3 separate regions of the Homo sapiens genome follow, and all the other regions are linked to region 1. The links are contacts of gene promoters, found by promoter capture Hi-C in blood cells and fetal thymus (Javierre and others, 2016). All regions are on one chromosome and are shown on one strand. Each heading gives the region's core, a stretch centred on a gene start or on the middle of the fragment in contact. The rest is flanking DNA. Distances are from core to core; before and after follow the strand shown.

Region 1 (3,681 bases), core at 511-3,010:
GGAGGCCTGGGTCTGAGCCCTCCATTAGGCAACCCCTTATTAGGAAAATTGCTACCAAGGAGCGGAGCGAGAGAGGCTTAATAACAGAAACCTGAGTCTCTAGGTAAGCTTTGTTTCAGACACTGTATTCTAGATTAAATGACCAAGAGATAGGGTAAGAGGAAAGGGGTGCTGGGCTAATGGGGTAAGGAGAAGGAGGATGGGGAAATAGAAAATAGAATAAGGATTCACCAGTAGTCAATTCCTTTAATATCCAGGATCTTCTTGGCACACATTATGTCATCAGTAATGTCATCATCCAGGAACTCTGGCAGGAGTTACAGGGAAAGGATTGAGACAGCTGACAAGTATTACCCAGAAAGGCACTGAGTTCCCCTAACCCCTGGATCCAGTGGGTTCTCTAAACTCAAGGCTTGTGCCTGTTGTCTTTCTATATGAAAGGACCAATGTGGTAATGTCTAACCCTGGGTAGGGACTTCCTTCATTTCCCTGGGATATCTCTGGAGGAATCATCAGCTTCATCAACTGACTTACCCTGAAAATGCAGACAATCAGATTCCAAGACTCTCAGACAGCTCCGATTGTCTACCACTGAACCTCAAGGAACTGTCTGGGGATTTGATGACCATGAAAAATCCAAACAGCTTCTTACTCAGTACTGCCAATTCAAGTCCCACAATTTTTATAGAGCCCAGCCAAGGCAATGAAGCCTGAGGTCTGCTTGGCACTAAAAAGGAGATTATCCCAAGGGCAGGCCTCAGAAAAACAGAGAAAGAGGGTTATAGGGGCTACTCACTGTCACAGGAGATGTCACAGATGTTCCTTGACTGAGGGACCTGGCTGCTCTTGCACCAAAGCTTATTACTGATCTGGAAGAGTCCATATTCCGTGCTTTCATTGTTTTCAACTATGGCTTGTGTGTCATAACCACTGGTGTGAAACATGGTACAGATCACTGAGGGAAAGATGAGAAAGAGATACCACAGAGATGTACAGGATCTGCATAAAGGAGGAACTGTAATTCTCAGACAAAAATGCTTTCCAGCCAATCTCCAAAGATGGCAAAGCTCAGAGTTTCTTGATGAGATGGAGAATTCCAAAAAAAAATCAGACAATAAGAGAAAGAAAGGATAGGAAAATAAATGGGGCCAGGCATGATGGCTCACGCTTGTAATCCCAACACTTTGGGAGGCTGAGGAGGGCGGATCACCTGAGGTCAGAAGTTTGAGACCAGCCTGGCCAACATGGTGAAACCCTGTCTCTACAAAAAATACAAAATTAGCCAGGCATGGTGGTGGGTGCCTGTAATTCCAGCTACTTGGGAGGCTGAGGCAGGAGAATCACTTGAACCGAGGAGGCGGAGGTTGCAGTGAGCCGAGATTACACCATTGCACTCCAGTCTGGGCAACAAGAGCGAAACTCCACCTCAAAAATAAATAAATACATACATATATACATACATGAAATAAAAGAGTATGCAAATGAGCAGAAAAGAGGATGATTAGATAATTAAGTAAAAGTGGAGGGGCGAAGTGGAAGAAAGAGGGGATGGAGGAGAGAAGCGTATGAGGAATGGATGAAACACAGAGGCAGGGAACTCACATTCAGGCAAAGCGATGCCTCCATAACCATCTATGTCTTTCAGCAGCTGGGACAGCTCACATTTTGTGAATTGCTTGGCCAGGATGGCAGGGAACAGGATGCCCACCAGGAACAGAGGGACAAAGAACCTCATTTTGGCTACCCCCAAGAACCTGAAATGGAAGCATCACTCAGTTTCATTTATTTATATTCATGCAGAAAGCCTCAGGGGCTCTGGTACCAAGCCCTACATCTAGGAAGAGAATGAAGAGAGACTGGTCATGCCAAGACAGAAACGCTGAGCCTGCCAGCTTCCTTCCATAATTCACCCTACTTTTCCTTTCCCTCTCCCAGTATCTAGTCCATAGCAGGTATTGTTCTCTGGCCAGAAAGAGTTCAAACCATGATCCTGCTTCCCATTTGGCTTTGTTTAGCCCTTTGTTTCTTGTAGGGTTGGTTCTGGGAAGCACTGTCTCTGGTTACTTGAGGAACAAAGAAGGGCATGGGGGCAATATAAGAAGTGAGGCAATCAGAAAATACAATAAAGTTCTATACCGAGCTTCCCCCTTCCCCCCTAGAGACATGCAGAATGTGGAGAGGGGGTGTATGTCATCACATGCCACAGTCCCAGGATCAGAGCTGGCACTTGTCCAACCAATCCAGCCATGTAACAAGGCCCAGAATTAGTTCTTTAATATGGTAGCTCATGACTGAAGGCTCAGAAATAGGAATAGAATATGGGAACGTAGACTACAACAATCCGATATAACTTGGATCTTAAGACTTCCTACTTAAGGAAAATGCATAATTGAAAAGCCTGTATGAAAGCATCTAGGCCAGGCACAGTGGCTCACACCTGTAATCCCGGCATTTTGGGAGGCCGAGTCTGGTGGATCACTTGAGCCCAGGAGCTCGAGACCAGCCTGGGCAACATGGTAAAATCCCATCTCTACAAAAAAAATTAGCTGGGCATGGTGACATGTGCCTGTAGTCCCAGCTACTTGAGGGGCTGAGGCAGGAGGAACACTTGAGCACAGGAGGTCGAGGCTGCAGTGAGCCATGTTCACTCCACTGCACTCCATCCATCCTGGGAGACAAAGTGAGACCCTATCTTTAAAAAAAAAAAAAAAAAAAAAGAATCTAGCTATCCTACGAGCTATTATCAGATTCCCCACCCCTAACCACTCCTACCGTAAATAACCAAATACTACACTGGCATTGAGACATTACATAAATCTAAGACCAATAACTTGTAGACAACCTCAGAGTTGGCCACAGAAAGTGGGAAGGACCCAAGCCAGTGGAAAGATTGGACTTTAAGGCTGAACAAGCTTATGTCTGGAATCTCTATAAGGTCAGTGCCCCTGAGCAAGTAGAGTTGAGGATACTAGTTCTGAATAGCTCCTTTAATTTGCTGGCATGAAGCTTCATGTCATGGTGACAAGTAGCTCTTAGCTCCTTCATGCCACCATTCGTCTTCTTTGTCCTCATCTCTAAACCTGATTTCTTCTTCTTCTTCCTTTTTTTTTTTTTTTTTTGACCAAGTCTCACTCTGTTGCCCAGGCTGGAATGCAGTGGCGCGATCTTGGCTCACTGCAACCTCTGCCTCCCAGGCTCAAGTGATTCTCCTGCCTCAGCCTCCCGAGTAGCTGGGACTACAGGCACGTGTTACCATGCCCGGTTAATTTATGTATTTTTAGTAGAGACGGAGTTTCTGCATGTTGGCCAGGCTGGTCTCAAACTTCTGAGCTCAGGCAATTTGCCTGCCTGGGCCTCGGCCTCCCAAAGTGCTAGGATTACAGACAGGAGCCGCTGCGCTGTTTCTTATGTTTCAGGGAACATTTATCCCAACCAATCTATTTAAGACTTACATACTGAAGGTCTTCCATATCGTTATCTCCTACATGTATTCAGAGTCAGGGAAAAGTCCTCTCAGTTAAATCCTGTCTTCTGTACCATGGATAACCAGTATATGAAGTGGCATGAGTGAAGGGAATGTGGAGGATCTTGGTGTGCCAGAAGGGATGAGCAGAAAGTTCTGATAGCAAGAGATACATGTTCAGAAACACAACAGAAGTGGAGCCACTCCATTTCTCCGCA
Region 2 (3,681 bases), core at 373-2,872, 650 kb before region 1:
AATTGATCAGAGTAAGTCACTTAGCCATAACTAACTTCAGGGGTCAGTGAGTAACCCTTTCATAGGTCCAGGAAGGGAGAACTGGAAATACTGATGAACATCACAATAGTCAATAATAAAGAGTCCAGGAAAAACCTTTTCCAACCAGAAATTTTAAATGTATTTCTGAAGAATAAACCATAGACTAAAAGAGAAAATATTCAGAACATAATAATAACAATGCTGTATATTGAAATTTATGGATGCAACTAAAATTGTACTTAGAGGGATGTGTATAATACTAATACTTGCTTAGCATTTACTATGTGGTGGACATTGTTTTATGTACTCTACATGTGTTACTCATTTAAGTTTTCTGTTTTGAAATGGGGTCTCGCTCTGTTACCTGGGCTGGAGTGCAGTGATCATAGCTCATAGCAACCTCAACCTTCCAGGCTCAAATAATCTTCCCACCTCAGCCTCTACAGTCATGTGCCACCATACCTGGCTAATTTTTGTATTTTTGTAGGGACAGAGTTTCGCCATGTTGCCCAGGCTGGTCTTCAGCTTCTGAGCTCAAGTGATCCACCCACCTAAGCCTCCAAAAGTGCTGGGACCACTGGCATGAGCCACCGCACCCAGCCTTAATTTTCATAACAACCCTTGAGGCAAGTACAAATGAGGAAACTGAAGCGCACACACACAAAAAAACTAACTGAAGTCACACAGCTAGAAGTAGCAGAGCTAGGAATTGGACTCAGGAAATCAGGCTTTAGAGTCCATGTGCTATAGTTGCGAATGTTTACATTAATTTTTTTTAAAGCTCAAAATTAATGTGCTAAGCATCCTATTTAAAAAGTTAGGGCCAGGTGCAGTGGCTCATGCCTATAAACCTAGCACTTTGGGAGGCTGAGGCAGGCAGATCACTTGAGCCCAGGATTTCGAGACCAACCTGGGCAACATGGTGAAACTCCACCTTTACAAAACATACAAAAATTAGCCAGGTGTGGTGGTGCATGCCTGTGGTCCCAGCTACTTGGGAAGCTGAGGTGGGAGGATAACTTGAGCTTGGGAGGTTGAGGCTGCAGTGAGCCAAAATCATGCCACTGCACTACAGCTTGCACAACAGCGTGAGACTCTGTCTCAGAAAAAAAGAAAAAGTTAAAGGGTTGTGCTTGGTGCCTCATACCTGTAATCCCAGCACTTTGGGAGGCAAAAGTGGAAAGATCACTTGAACTCAGGATTTCGAGACCAACCTGGGCAACATAGTTCATGAGTTCATATTAATGTTTTTAACTGTCATCCAGAACTCCAAGGTTCATTCTAGCCTTGTTTTCTTGCTTTTCTGTAACCTCCCTCTCCAATAGTGAAAACTTGCTTCTGCCACCCATGTTTCATAAATCAATATTCATGACAAATAAATAAATATCAGTTAGTGACTGAATGAGTAAATGAGTAGGGGAGATTAGTTAGATAAATCCCCTCTATAAGAGAATTCCAAATAGCTTACATAGATACCACCCACTCAAGGAGGTGAAGCATCATTCCCTACTCATTCAGTGTGGTGTGCATGTTATTATTTCCTTTTACAAGCACAGTATGGAAAAGGGTGAGAAATGTAACTTTACAGTGAGGAGAACTAGCAAACACTACCTCAGCCAGGTGGTCAAGGTGAACATTATTGGTGATAAGTTAATATTAATAGCATATACCTTTGATAGGATATGATGAAAATGACAGTCTACCTCTATGGTCTTCTTCCCTAAAACACATACTTCCTGTGTAACTATGAAACAAAGAGATCAGACAAACCCAAGTCGAAGGACATTCTAAAAAATACCTGACCAGTCCTCCTCAAAACTGTCAAGATCATCAAAAACTTGGGAAGTTTGAGAAACCATCATAGTCTAGAGGAGCCAAAGGAGACATGATGGCTAATGTAATGTGGTGTCCTGGATGGGATCCTAAAACAGGAAAGCCAAAGAAATGCAAATAAACCAGGGACCTCAGAAAATAATCATATAGCAATATTTGGTCATTAGTTGTCACAAATGCACCATCATAATGTAAGATGTTAATAACAGGGGAAACTAGGTGTGAAGTGTATATAAGAACTCTCTTTAATACTCATGCAACTTTTTTTTTTTTAAAAAAAAACAGTGTCTTTCTATGTTGCCCAGGCTGATCTCAAACTCCTGGGCTCACACAGTCCACCTACTTTGGCTTCCCAAAGTGCTGGGATTCCAGGCATGAGCCAGCAGTTGAGGCATGGCCTCAACTTTTCTATAAATCTTAAACTACTCTAAAATGAAAATTTATTGAATGTTTTAAAAGGGGTATTTCTTAAGCGAGAAAGAAAAGGGGTAAACTAAATGACTAACCAATTTGACTATGTCACAGTGGAGAATCTCTGCTATAAAAAGACAATGGCCAGGTGCGGTGGCTCACGCCTATAATCCCAACAGTTTGGGAGGCCGGGGCAGGTGGATCACTTGAAGTCAGGAGTTTGAGACCAGCCTTGCCAACACGGCGAAATCCCATCTTTATTAAAAATACCAAAATAAGCCTGGCATGGTAGCAGGCACCTGTAAATCCCAGATATTCACAAGGCTGAGGCAGGAGAATCGTTTGAACCGGGAGGCAGAGGTTTCAGTGAGCTGAGATCGTGACCGCAACACTGCACTCCAGCCTGGGTGACAGAGTGAGTGAGACTTCGTCTCAAAAAAAAAAAAAAAAAAAAAAGACAACAAAATAGTGAAAAGACAAGCCAAAGAGTGGAACAAGATAATTGCCGCATGGTTAACCAACAACAGATCAATATCAAAGATATATAAAGGATGGCTATGAGACAATCATAAAAATGTAAACTATTACATAGAAAGATGAGCAGAAGATTTGAGTAGGCATTTCACAGTAAAGGAAACACAAATTATCCGTAAACATATGAGGGGAAAAAGTCCTCATTAGTAATCAGGGAAATGCAAATTAAAACCACAATAAGATATCATTTCACATCTCCCAAGTTGAAAGGTCAGTCAACTCAAGTTTTACCAGAGACGTGGGGCAGTTGTAACTCTCATCTGGTGGGTCAGTTGGACCCACCATAAAGAACAGCTGATCTCTACCTAGGGAAGTTTAATGTGCTCAGACCTTATAATCCAGCAATTTCACTCCGAATTATGTACTCCAGAGAAACTGTTGTTCACATGCACCAAGAGACAGGTACAAAACATTCACTTAAAAATTGTTTATAATAGCCAAAAAACTTAAAAATATATTCGTCAATGGAATAATGAATAGATAAATTGTGGCATGTTCCAAAATGGAATACTATATAGCAGTAGAAAATGAAATAACTACAACAACTCACATCCACATGGGTGAGTCTCACAAACATAAAACTGAGAAAAGAGGTAAGTGATGGACTATATACAGAATGGTTTCATTTATTTAATGTTTAAAACAGGAAAGATGAGAGAGTCTAGTATTTAGGGATACAAATATATCATTATCTCCTGAGCCAAAATAGTGTTCAGTGCTATAAGAAAGTAATGATTTCCAAATATTCTCAAACATGATTTTGCTATTCTTCACATGCATCCCCAGAGACCATAGACAGTTTTAGGGCTGGATAAGTACAAGTTCAAAGACACTGAGGAAATTTACTAGTCTAAAACTCAATCACACAGATGGCAAAAGTAT
Region 3 (3,681 bases), core at 653-3,152, 540 kb before region 1:
GAAAGGCGAGAGGCAGCTCAGAGAGGCATTCCAGGTGTCAGTTAAGAGGGGCCGCAGGAGGAAAAGGCCATTAAACCACAACTAAGGTCAGCCCCCGGTAGAATGAAAAAACAATAAACTGAGACCTTGGAGAGTGGTGGGAAGGTAACTGGGGAATTGAGGGAGGGTACCCCTGCCTCAGGCTGGGGAGGGAAGGCCTTGGGTCCTGGAAGGGACACCAGCTTGTCTTGCCTGATGCTGGGAGTCTCAGAGGCTGTTCTGTGTAAACTCCTGGAGGCAGGGACTGGGCCCCAGGAGACTCTGAACCCCGCGCCCAGCGCACGCTCAGCACACCACAGGCACTGGGCACGCGCCTGATGAATGAGTGGAGATTGAGCCTGGCGCACAGGAGGAGGCTGGAGTGCTTGCCATGCATTAGATGCTGGGCTCGGCACTGCCTGTCTGCAAACTCTTCGTACCCCAAGACGTGAGTATTATTAGCTCCCTTTTAAAGACAAGCAAACGTAGACACTAGAATATGTTATTTTGGGGCTCCCCAGACTCTGGGAATTCACTAGAACTCTACCTATTGATACTTGGAACTTCTGAAACAGACACATTCCTTCATTCCAGAATTAGTCATAAAAAGGCTGAATGAGGCCGGGCGTGGTGGCTCACGCCTGTAATCCCAGCACTTTGGGAAGCTGAGGCAAGCAGATCATGAGGTCAAGAGATGGAGACCATCCTGGGCAACATGGTGAAACCCCGTCTCTACTAAAAATACAAAAATTAGCTGGGCGTGGTGACGTGTGCCTGTAGTCCCAGGTACTCAGGAGGCTGAGGCAGGAGAATTGCTTGAACCCGGGAGGCAGAGGTTGCGGTGAGCCGAGATCGCGCCACTGCACTCCAGCCTGGTGACAGAGCGAGACTCCACCTCAAAAGAAAAAAAAAAAAGGCCGAATGCCTGTGGAGGCTAAGGCAGCACACTGAAACTCACTCCTGAAGGGTCATTAGAATGATTGTCTGGTATCTGGAATTCCCTGGCCTGTCAAGGATGATGGGGGCTGCCCTGAGCTGGGGAACATGCTCGGCTGAGGGAGGTGGAGGACAGTGGCAGGCCTGTGTGCACTCCCAGCGTTGCCTCAGTGAGCTGTTTGCCTTCACTGGGCAGGGACCCACAAGGGTCATGTATTTTTGTCATGCCTGACGGGGAATGCACATGATTTATGAAGTTTTTTTTAACCTGAGGCTTCCTCATAAAAGAGCTTTGAGAAGACTGCAGCCAATCTGGTTATGAAAGGCCTTCCTTTCTGGGATCTGTTAGACAAGATATTGTTGACTGCCTGCCCTCAAGAATGAGGGACCACGTGTGCTCCACCCTAGGTCTGGAATGGCCCAAGACCCCAGGAAAACTGCACGTGGATTTGTACCTTGTTCTCCTATCCCATCTCAGGCTTCTTGCCCTCTACACCCTCTTAGCTGACATTTCTACCCCCAAGAAACCTGCCCCAAGAGATCTCTGAGTCCCTGATCCCTTATGCCCTTGACATCAAAGGTCCAAGCTTCCCTGGACAAGTCACTTGACCTCACTAAGTCTCTTTTCTCATCTGCAAAATGAGCATAAAAATATCCACCTTGAAATCTTCATAGTAAGGGATTCAATCAATGTCTCACCAGCTGGAAAGCTCTCTGAGCTCTCTCTCTCTCCATGTGTCATTTAATCTTGTCTCCCTAGCACCTAACAGAGTGCCAGGCACATAGAGGCCAATACTAAGTGGCAACTTGTAGAAATGACTTCTACTGAATTCAGTGAATTCAGTGATGAGGAATAAGTAAAATGTGTTTGTAAATTGCAAGCACAGTGCCTGGCACTTGGTAAGCATTTAGAAAATTTGGGTTACGCCTGCATTTGAATCTGACTCTCCCCTACAGATGCCGGACCCAAGACTCTGGCCCCAGTGGTGAGGCAGGGACCCCAAGGTTCCAGCCATCTCCTCCTGGCCTGACTGGGGCTGCAGGGGACCTGTGTCAGTCTCCCTCCTTGGCGCCCCCTCCCCCATCCCAGACCCCTGGCCTCTTGATATCCCGGCAGCAGCCCCCACAGCCCCTCTGGGGTGGTGGGCGTCCCTGTGTCGGCACAGCTAGGCTGGGCCCCTCTCCAGGGAAGGGGCTGAAGGGTGTGAAGGACTGGTGTGTATGACTTTGTTTATTTTCTCTGAAGAATCCTGCCTGAGCCCTGCTATAAAAATAACCTGCCTGGAAACCTCATCTCCAAGGGGTAGAAAGAAGCTTTTGTATCCAGGGAAGCTGCTCTAACTGCCTCCCTGTACCTTCGCCTCAGCCCATGCATCAAGGAGGAGCCAGCCAAGGTGATGAGGGGCCAGGGCAAGGGAGAGGGATGTGTGGGGAGGGAGGAGGGGACGGAAGGGCAGCTCAGCAGCCTCTTGCCCTGAGCACGGCAGAAGCCTCTCACTTGTCTGCTCGACCCAGGAAGATCCAAAGGAGGAACTGAGGGAGAGAGAGGGAAAGAGGAAGTCAACAAGAGAAAAAAACACTGGATGTTGAGAGAGACAAGGAGGCCAGGAGACAGAAGATCAAATCCAGGACAGAGGAGGGGCATGGGGAGAGTGGGGAGGAGAGTGAAGTCAAAGGAGAAAGAAAACCAAGAGACGTGTATGCAGAGACACAGAGCTCAAGGGATCAGAAAGAGGCTGTGGCCATGTTTACAGACGTAGCTTAGCATGTGGTCCCCACCACCAAGGGAGAAAGCAGGCACAGCCAGGCTGTCCCTGCCACCTGCTGGGTTCCTGCTCTGCTGCACAGCCCAGCTTCCACTCTGGCTCAGGCTGTGGCAGAAAAGACAAAGGTCCCCCGAGCACCCACTATGGCCAGGCCCTGGGTGAGGCATGAGACCAAGCCCCACTAAGGCTTCTCAAAGTGTTCCTTCCCAGGAGCCAGGCCTGATGGCACGGAGCAAGTCTGCACTGTCACCAAATTCAGGAGGCCTGGATTCAAGTCCCAGTTCTCCTGCTTTTTAGCTGGGTGATCTTGTACAAACCACTTAGAATTTCCCAGCCTGGTTCTCTTATCTGTAAACCATAAATAGTAAACCTCCCTGTCTACCTCCCGGGGCTGTTGAGCAGATCTATGGAAGCATATCTGAACAGGTTCTCCAAGTTGTATGGTGCCAGCAAGACAAGAGGGAATGACCCATTCCTTTAGCCATATTTCTCTAGGTAGCCATCTTAGGATCATGGGTGAGCCATACGGAGAATGAACCAACATAGGAAACTCCTATTACCTCTGTTTTCACAGTAGAGGAAACTGAGGCTTAAACAGGTTAGTAACATGCTCACCATCGTGTATTAATAGCTCTTAGGCAACAGAACATGAATCCAGGTCTCTATATTCAGAGTCTGTGTAGACCCAGAGTGCTGGGCCTTCTCTCCAATCTAATGGCAGAGGCTGCCCAAGAATGACCTGGGACAGTCTGCTCCACTTCCTTTAAGGATGAATTAATTTCCAATTGTTCTATGCAGGCCAGACCTATCTCTCCTTGGAGACTGCACAAGCAGGTGAGCATTAAAGGAAGGCGGGAGGCCAATTTTTGCCCAGCATTAGGAAGAACATTGCTATTGTTCCAGCAATGAAGTGAGCTGCCTGAGAGAGTCCGAGCTCTCTGTGGCTGCGAGGCCAGCAGGC

The links. Contacts are between HindIII fragments. The CHiCAGO score rates a contact against its expected background, and 5 or more counts as called.
Region 2: a contact is called between a fragment that was not itself captured here and the fragment with the promoter of LALBA in region 1, in 1 of 17 cell types (erythroblasts). The highest score is 5.0, in erythroblasts.
Region 3: a fragment that was not itself captured here is called in contact with the fragment with the promoter of LALBA in region 1 in 5 of 17 cell types (M1 macrophages, erythroblasts, neutrophils and 2 more); the score reaches 8.6 in M1 macrophages.

Annotation. Positions count from the first base shown.
Region 1 is chr12:48,568,286-48,571,966 of GRCh38, forward strand. It overlaps LALBA (lactalbumin alpha), which reads right to left and starts at 1,761. Exons shown (of 4, transcript NM_002289.3): 1 at 1,603-1,761; 2 at 797-955; 3 at 232-307. The coding sequence starts at 1,735. The HindIII fragment of the contact is 2,055 bases long and covers 856-2,910 here.
Region 2 is chr12:47,916,883-47,920,563 of GRCh38, forward strand. No RefSeq gene overlaps it. Among named protein-coding and RNA genes, the nearest start is that of VDR, 14 kb to the left of the region's middle. The HindIII fragment of the contact is 4,158 bases long and covers 1-3,681 here.
Region 3 is chr12:48,027,571-48,031,251 of GRCh38, forward strand. It overlaps LOC105369750 (a long non-coding RNA gene), which reads left to right. Exons shown (of 4, transcript XR_944904.3): 3 at 2,201-2,348; 4 at 3,519-3,681. Among named protein-coding and RNA genes, the nearest start is that of COL2A1, 25 kb to the left of the region's middle. The HindIII fragment of the contact is 727 bases long and covers 1,540-2,266 here.